Linked DNA regions of Homo sapiens: region 2 is linked to region 1. Evidence: promoter capture Hi-C in 16 types of primary human blood cells and fetal thymus (Javierre and others, 2016). All regions are on one chromosome and are shown on one strand. The core of a region is centred on a gene start or on the middle of the fragment in contact, and the rest is flanking DNA. Distances in the headings are between cores, read along the strand shown. Region 1 holds the start of BLK-AS1 (BLK antisense RNA 1). Region 2 has its middle 38 kb from the start of LINC00208.

Region 1 (3,497 bases), core at 772-3,271:
GATCCATCCATCCATCCACCCACCCACCCACCCATCCATCCATCCACCCATTCATCCATCCATGCATGCATCCATCCATCCATCCATCCATCCATCCATCCATGCATCCATCCATCCACCCACCCACCCACCCACCCACCCACCCACGCATCCACCCATCCATGCATCCATCCATCCCCTTGCTACACCATGCAATCAATACTCATTTACTAATATGGGACTGTGGGGAATATAAAACTGAGTACTAAATATATCTGGGCAGCATCTAACAGTACTCGTTCTGATAACTAATATTTATTGAACAGTACCAGAAATATATTTTAAAAAATGTTGAGTAGGGCCCAGATCTGCTTTCAAGAAGAAGCTGCCCAGATCTGCTGAGCAAGAACAGTGCTTCCGGGAACACCTGAGCTAAGGGCTCTCTGGCAGTTTCTTGTCCAGGGAAACCTTCATAGAAATGACATTACGCTTGAGCCATGGATGATGATAAGGATTCTGCCAGGTGGGAAGTGTTCAAGGCTTCCTGGGCAGAGGAGGTAGAGGGGTGGCGAGGCATGGGGCATGGGAACCGGTGGCATCTGGCTGCAAAGTGGGGCCCGAGGGATTGTGATTGCAGGGTTCCTGTGGGGTTGGCCAGATCTGGCCTTGGAAGAAAGGTCTGGCGAGACTTTGCATGGCTTCCTATGGAGTAAGAAAAGAAGAGCCCAGAAGGGCCGGGTGTGTGTCTGCTCATGTGTGTGTAAGTTTGCGTGTTTGTGTGTGTGTTTGTGTGTGTGAGTTTGTGAGTTTGTGTAAATGTGTTTGTGTGAGTTTGTGTTTGAGTCTGAGTCTGTGTATTTGTGTGTCTGTGTGAGTTTGTGTGTGTGAGTCTGTGTGTCTGTGTGTGTGTCTGTCTGTGTGTGAGTTTGCGTGTCTGTGTGAGTCTGTGTATGTGTTTGTGTTTGTCCGTGTGTGTGTGAGTCTGTGTTTTTATGTGTGTGAGAGTGTGTGTGTGTACATGTGTGCTTAGAGAGCCATTGGCATGGTCAGCATGTGGTTAGAGGCTGCCCTTCTGGGAAGTTCTGATTTTCTGGCTCCTCACCCCCGATTCTGTGGCTACATCCAGGTATTAAACTCCGATGGCTTTTCACATCCTTTGCCCCTGGGTCACACGAGATTTCCCAAGGGGGTGTAGTGGGGATTGAATAGGAGACAGCGGAGGGTGAGAGAAGGAAGGGGAAAGGAAGCAGCAGCAGTGGGCAGGCTTATCACTGCCCTGGGGTTTGAAGCCGGTTACCAGCACTCATTTTCCAAAACCAGCCTGCCCAGATGGCTGTCTGCCCACCTCAGCGGAAAAAGGCGTTGTGGCATCAGTTCCTGCAGCGGCGCTACTGGGTAAGGCTGGGCGAGGGGCGAGGTGGGAGGGCTGATGTGGGCGGTGGGTGGGAGCGTTTCCTCTCGGTGGCAGCTGTATGTGTGTGTGTATGTGTACGCACGTGTGTGCCTCACAGGCTGACCACAGACCAAAACTTTTCTGCTGAGAGTTCCAGTTTTAACAGGGCCACCAGATGTGCTTCCTGCCAGCTAGAGCTCTCGGCTAAAACCCTCCTCTCCACTCTGCTCTTCACCCCATGGAGTCCAGAAAGTTCTGCATGTGAACGTGAGGGACACTGAGGACCAGTCCTGGGTAGCCAAGGAGGTCCAGCACTCGCAATTCCCTGGTGGCAGAAGGTGGGGCTGTCCTCCAGGGCTCAGAGAAGTCATGTCCCTGGCATCTGTGTGTAGCTCAGGCCTGCCCATCAGCCTGGGGTCGACGCCAGGGCTGTGCAAAGGCTGAGGGCCCCTGGGATGGGAAGTCCTACAGGAGATGTTTGTGGGCACCATCTAAGGAAGAGATGAGGTCACAACAGAACACACTTGCCTGCCGGGTTCAATGGAACTCTTGCTAACTCTGTGTGTTTCCCATGACATTCATTCGCCCTCTCTTCCTTCGGAACAGAATAGCCTCATTCCAACACAGCAGCCCGGGTCTAAGGCTCCATTCCCTGGGCTCCCTCACAGCTGCGTGGGGCAGGAGGCACAGTGGCCAGGGTTTGCAAGTCCAAGTGCAGTGGGTGACCTTGGGGATATCTGCCTAGAGGAAGGTGGCCTTCAGTACCCCCTGACTTCTCCTGCTGGCTGAGAGGATGGGGTGGTAAGGCACGAGCAGCCATTGTGGGCAGCAGGTGGCACATGCCGCCCTTTCTCTGCACCTGGTACTTCACCAACCTGCGCCGACATGTCAATCAGCCTTGGGAGTGACAATCTGCTCCCTTCATCTGTCTTCAGGAAATCCAGCAGGCATCCTAAGAAAAGAGAAGTTGCAAGTGCCCTTCTGCAAAGTGACCCGCCCCTGGTGGTGCCAGCCTCTCTCTGGTGTGAGTGGCTCCCCATGGGCGCGGGAAGTGGGAGTTTGCACCCTCAGATCTCTCGGTGCATCAGGAAGGATCTACCTACTGCTGCCGAGTGCCTTCCACTTTACAAAATGCCAGTCTCAGCACCCCGGGAGGCAGCCAATATACCAGCAGTTGCCCAGAAGTTAGGTTTCAGCCAGGTGCAGGGACCTGTCTGAAGTCACCCAGCCGGGAGCTGGGAGTGGGACCCCAGTTCTGACTCGAAGTTTCATGCCCCTTCTTGTCTTTCCCCCCGTGTTGGCCTCGCTCCCTTGATCCCTGCTGGCAGACACCCTCTGCCTCTGAGGACCAGGCATCAGCAAGAAAGCACCAGAATGGAGAGAACTGTCCCCCAGGTTTGGTGCAGGGGACAAATGCAGCTCCCCCTGGAATCAGAAAGCTGGGAGGGATGGATGCTTGCCCTAGGGGCAGGCTAGAGGCACCCCCAGCACAGCCTCCGACCGGGGGCCCCTTGGTGACAGTTGTTAGGGAGCTATATCAACATGGGCATGTTAGGATCCTATAGGAGCAGTGTGCGGTCAGGGTCATAGGAGGGTGAGAAAGTGGCATGAGAACTTGGCCACGCCGTGGACCTCAGAGGCCATCAAGCCCAACCTCTCTGGCCATCCTTGTAAAATATTCACACAGTTGTAAATGGTTGCATGACCAGGAGGCAGGAGACCTGGATCTAGTACTGTCCCTGCATGCCTGGCCTGGTGTTCGTCTGACTTTGCAATGCTCTGTCCCTCCCAGCAGGCATCAAAGAGTGCTAGGCACAGAAGATGCACTCCAGAAATGCTGTCTGAACTGCTCCTGGGCTGAGAACATGGCTCTGTCAGAACCACTTCACCCTCCTGTTTCTCACCCTCCCTCTGTCCCTCCCCCTCCCTCCATCCCTCCCTGTCCCCACACCGTGCCATGCCCTAGATCTGCAGGACCCCCTGGCCTGGTGAACCCACCGCAGCGGACCCTCCTCCTCCTGCTAAGCCCGGCCCTCCCGCCTCGCTCTGAGGATGCGGCTCTGCGGGGGGCACCACCTCTGGCCATGTACTCGGTGACAATGTAGATGGGCTCCTTGGTGACCAC
Region 2 (3,445 bases), core at 801-3,300, 56 kb before region 1:
TTCCTGGGAAGAAAAGAGGCCTAAAAAGGAGAGCAGGGTCTGTCTGCTTTGTCACCGTGTTTACTGTGTGATCTTCATTCCTCAGGGTCTTGCCAGGTTCTCGTGAGCACTACAGTCCTTGGGGATCTTGGCCCAGAGCCCAGGACTAAGGTGGCCAGAAGTCCAGGATAGGGGTATACTACCTTGCCCTGGTTCCAGATAGCATGAGACCCGTCTTCTCCTTCCTGATAGGACGCTTCTGGAAATTCCAAAGGTTAAAATCGGGAAACAAGAAGGAGGCAGGAATACTATGTGTGGCCTGGATAGGAAGATATAGTGCTTTTCAGGGGGCAGCTTTAAGCCATGTAAATTCTCTTACCCTAAGGGACTTGAAGGGTTTCCAAAGGTCTGTGGATGGGGTAAAATCCCACCAATGAGCCTTCCATCTGTCCTAACTTAAGGTGCAAATATTTCTGGCAGGCCAACACACAAATTCATGAACACTTCAGCATGAATGAGCAACTCACACGCACTCTTCTGAGAGTGCCGGGTGCAGACCAAAGATGCTGAGGGGAGAACACACAAGGCCCAAGAGGAAGTGGGTATAGAAACAGAAAACAGTTCTTGACAGTTTTCCAGATCTGTCACTTTTTTTTTTTTTGAAGGGTGGAATTTTCTCTCCTGTCAAGTTTATGCCTAGAACACGCGTTCCATCGGTTGGATCCCTGGGTTTAAGGCGGCATTTCCAGGGTGCCTCTTTGCTTAACTAAGCACTTACACTCCTTAAGCTTCAGTGATCTCAGTGTCTGATGTCCAGGGTGTTGGAGGGTCTGGCTGGGTTTCCTGGAAAATTCTTACATACACTGAAGTGCCCTCTCCCTTCCCAGAACAAACAACTTTGCATTATCAGAGCCCCTTGGCTTTACAAAACCCACGTTAGCATACAATGCCCAGCTCCTCTTTTTAATTGTTCCCTTTCTCGTTTCTCCCTCCCTTCTATCCTGTCTTTCACATTTCTATCCTTTCTCCGTTGGGATTTGCAATTTTGTTTGTGAAATAATGACTCACTCCAGTAATCAATGACCTGGACCTAGAGGTCACTGATGTATTCTTCCTTGACTATTCACCTAAATCAGCACCTCCTTCTCAGTTTGTATCTTTCACCAAACCCTTACTAGCATTTGCTATGCTGTGTGATGATTTGTTCATTTCTTGTATCTACCCCCAGATCTAAGCCCCATGGGCAGGGACTGTCACTCTTGTTCCCACCGTATTTCGTGTCTTGGCGTGGTGGCCAGCACACAGATGTGTTTAGCAAACACAGGGTGAATGAATAAATACGAGGATAAAGACCAGTGTGCTCTGCACAGACTAGTGATTGCAGGGAAGATGGACTGCCCTGAGTTTTCCAGGCAGACTTTGACGATGAGAAGTGACAGCGTTTGAATCCAAGTGAGGAGGCCACCCTGGACTCACATCTCAGCTTCGGAGATCGGGAGCCAGAGAGATGTTGGAGACTTTTAAGAGAAGAGCAGGAGCGGAGGGCTCAGGAAGAAAAACCACCTGGGGGGGCCGGACACGGGGAAGGGGAGGGGAGTCGCTCCCGGGTTCTTCCCTGGCTTCATTCGCTGCTTCTGTCTCTGCAGCCCCAGTTAGCGCCTGCCAGGCTCTGTGAGGGAGCGGTGCATGAGCGTGCCATCCTCCTCGGTGACCAGGTTAGAACCCAGGCATGCCGTGTCTGGGCCCTGGGCAGGTAGGCAACACCAGGCAACGTCTCAGGAGGGAAGGTGGTGAGCGGAACGGCATGCAGCCAGCCGGAGAACCTCACAATGAACCACTCTTCACGCTGGAGCCGTGGGCTTCCCAATTCTCCTCCCATAGCAGAGCCGAAGGAGGCCCTGGTCCCCAGGAGGCGGCTGCCCAAGCCTGAGGCTGCCGCCTCAGTCAAAGGGGCTGGAGCTGAGACCCCCAGGCTGTCCTGGGGTGTCAGTGAGGAGCCCAGCCTCCGCCTGAAGCCGCTTTCAGGGAAGGGAAGGAAACAGTCACTTGGTGGAGCTCCTGGTGCCCCAGCCATTCACCCTGCAGCACCTCTGTTCACACCACAAACACCCACGGAGGAAGCCGAGTTCTTTCAACCCACCCGCCATAGCCCCGTTTTTCCGCGGAGGAAGGGACACTGGAGCTGGTTGGGAACTTGCTGGAGAAAGTGGGACGTGCCAGGCTGCTTTCAGGCCCAGCCTCCCAGCCTGGTTCCAGACACGAGGCCCTGGCCCGGACCCTGGGCGGCTGCTCCGGGCCCGCGGTTCTCCCCTCGCCTAGCACTTCCTCTGCGCTTCCTCAGCGTCTTCCTCGTCCCTCCGGCTCCCCTCCCTGGCTCCGGGGGTCTGCCGCTGCAGCCGGCCTCCCCTCTATCTTGTCTCCCCGTTTCCACGGCTATCAGTCATTATCTGGTGCGATCCACCCTGGCCGGGGCACAGGAAGCCGGCCTGCGACGCTCCTCTTTATTCTCCATTCTTTTCCTTCTCCAGAGACAAAAGCAAAAACAGCCTGTTAACAGATCCGCCATTTCCCTTGGCTCCTTGACTCCCATTTCCCACTCTCATTTTTTTTCACAGGCTCCAGTGTTCCATGGTCAGGTCCTCTGGAGCCGCTGCCGCCCGGGCCTGAGGGCCCAGGCCTGTGACTTCCTCCTGGCCTGTCTGTCTGCCCGGGAGCCGGCACCGGCACCCACAGGCCCAAGGCTGTCTCCCTGGCCAAGCCGAAGCCGCCGGCTCCCTCTTATCCTCTGCGAGATCAGCCCAGCCAGTTGGAAGGGGCCGGCCAGCCGTCTGGCTGTCTGAGCCGGGACCGGTTGGCGGGTGCTCTGGCCTTCCTCATTAGCGGGGTCTCCACTGCCCTTCCTCTCGCAGGCTAGGCTGTGGCTCCTATTATAGCTACTGGAGGGTTTTTTAGTCAAAGAGCACCATGCATCCATTTATTATTTTACCATTCACTCAGACGTTCCCTGAGCACTTCCTATGCTGCTGCTGGAGCCCAGGGATCAGCCAACTATGACCTCTGGCCCCAAACGGCAGATCCTCTGTGGAGAGTGAGGAGGTTGCTGGGCTGAATCAAAGTGCTCTCACGCACGGTGGAAGTTGCTACGTGCAAAGAGATGCGGGCAACCAAGTGCTCTGAGGTGCAGAGGAGGCAGAGGCCATGCCAACAAGGAGAGCTTACGGCTCTCAGCCCTTCTCCGTGCCAGGCGCTGGGCTGAGCACTTCACATTGCTGTCTCATTGAATCCTGGAGGTAATCCATGGGGTAGGTACGATGATCATTAGCCCCTATTTCCAGATGAAGAGACTGAAGCTTAGAGTTAAGTGATCCACAGTGAGTACAATGCCTGGATTCATAGCCAGAGGCCCATGTGCTTTGAAGCCCCAGTTCATCATGTTGCCCTCCTACCATCTCTACCCACTCCCCCA

Evidence for each region. The method cuts DNA at HindIII sites, captures the fragments that hold promoters and counts their contacts. A CHiCAGO score of 5 or more calls a contact.
Region 2: a contact is called between a fragment that was not itself captured here and the fragment with the promoter of BLK-AS1 in region 1, in 1 of 17 cell types (total B cells). The highest score is 5.1, in total B cells.

What each region holds. Positions count from the first base shown.
Region 1 is chr8:11,556,789-11,560,285 of GRCh38, reverse strand. It overlaps BLK-AS1 (BLK antisense RNA 1), which reads left to right and starts at 2,021. Exons shown (of 5, transcript XR_948956.3): 1 at 2,021-2,396. It overlaps BLK (BLK proto-oncogene, Src family tyrosine kinase), which reads right to left. Exons shown (of 13, transcript NM_001715.3): 9 at 3,449-3,497; 10 at 2,248-2,324. RefSeq lists an enhancer at 1,562-1,851. The HindIII fragment of the contact is 8,296 bases long and covers 1-3,497 here.
Region 2 is chr8:11,612,534-11,615,978 of GRCh38, reverse strand. No RefSeq gene overlaps it. Among named protein-coding and RNA genes, the nearest start is that of LINC00208, 38 kb to the right of the region's middle. The HindIII fragment of the contact is 2,562 bases long and covers 770-3,331 here.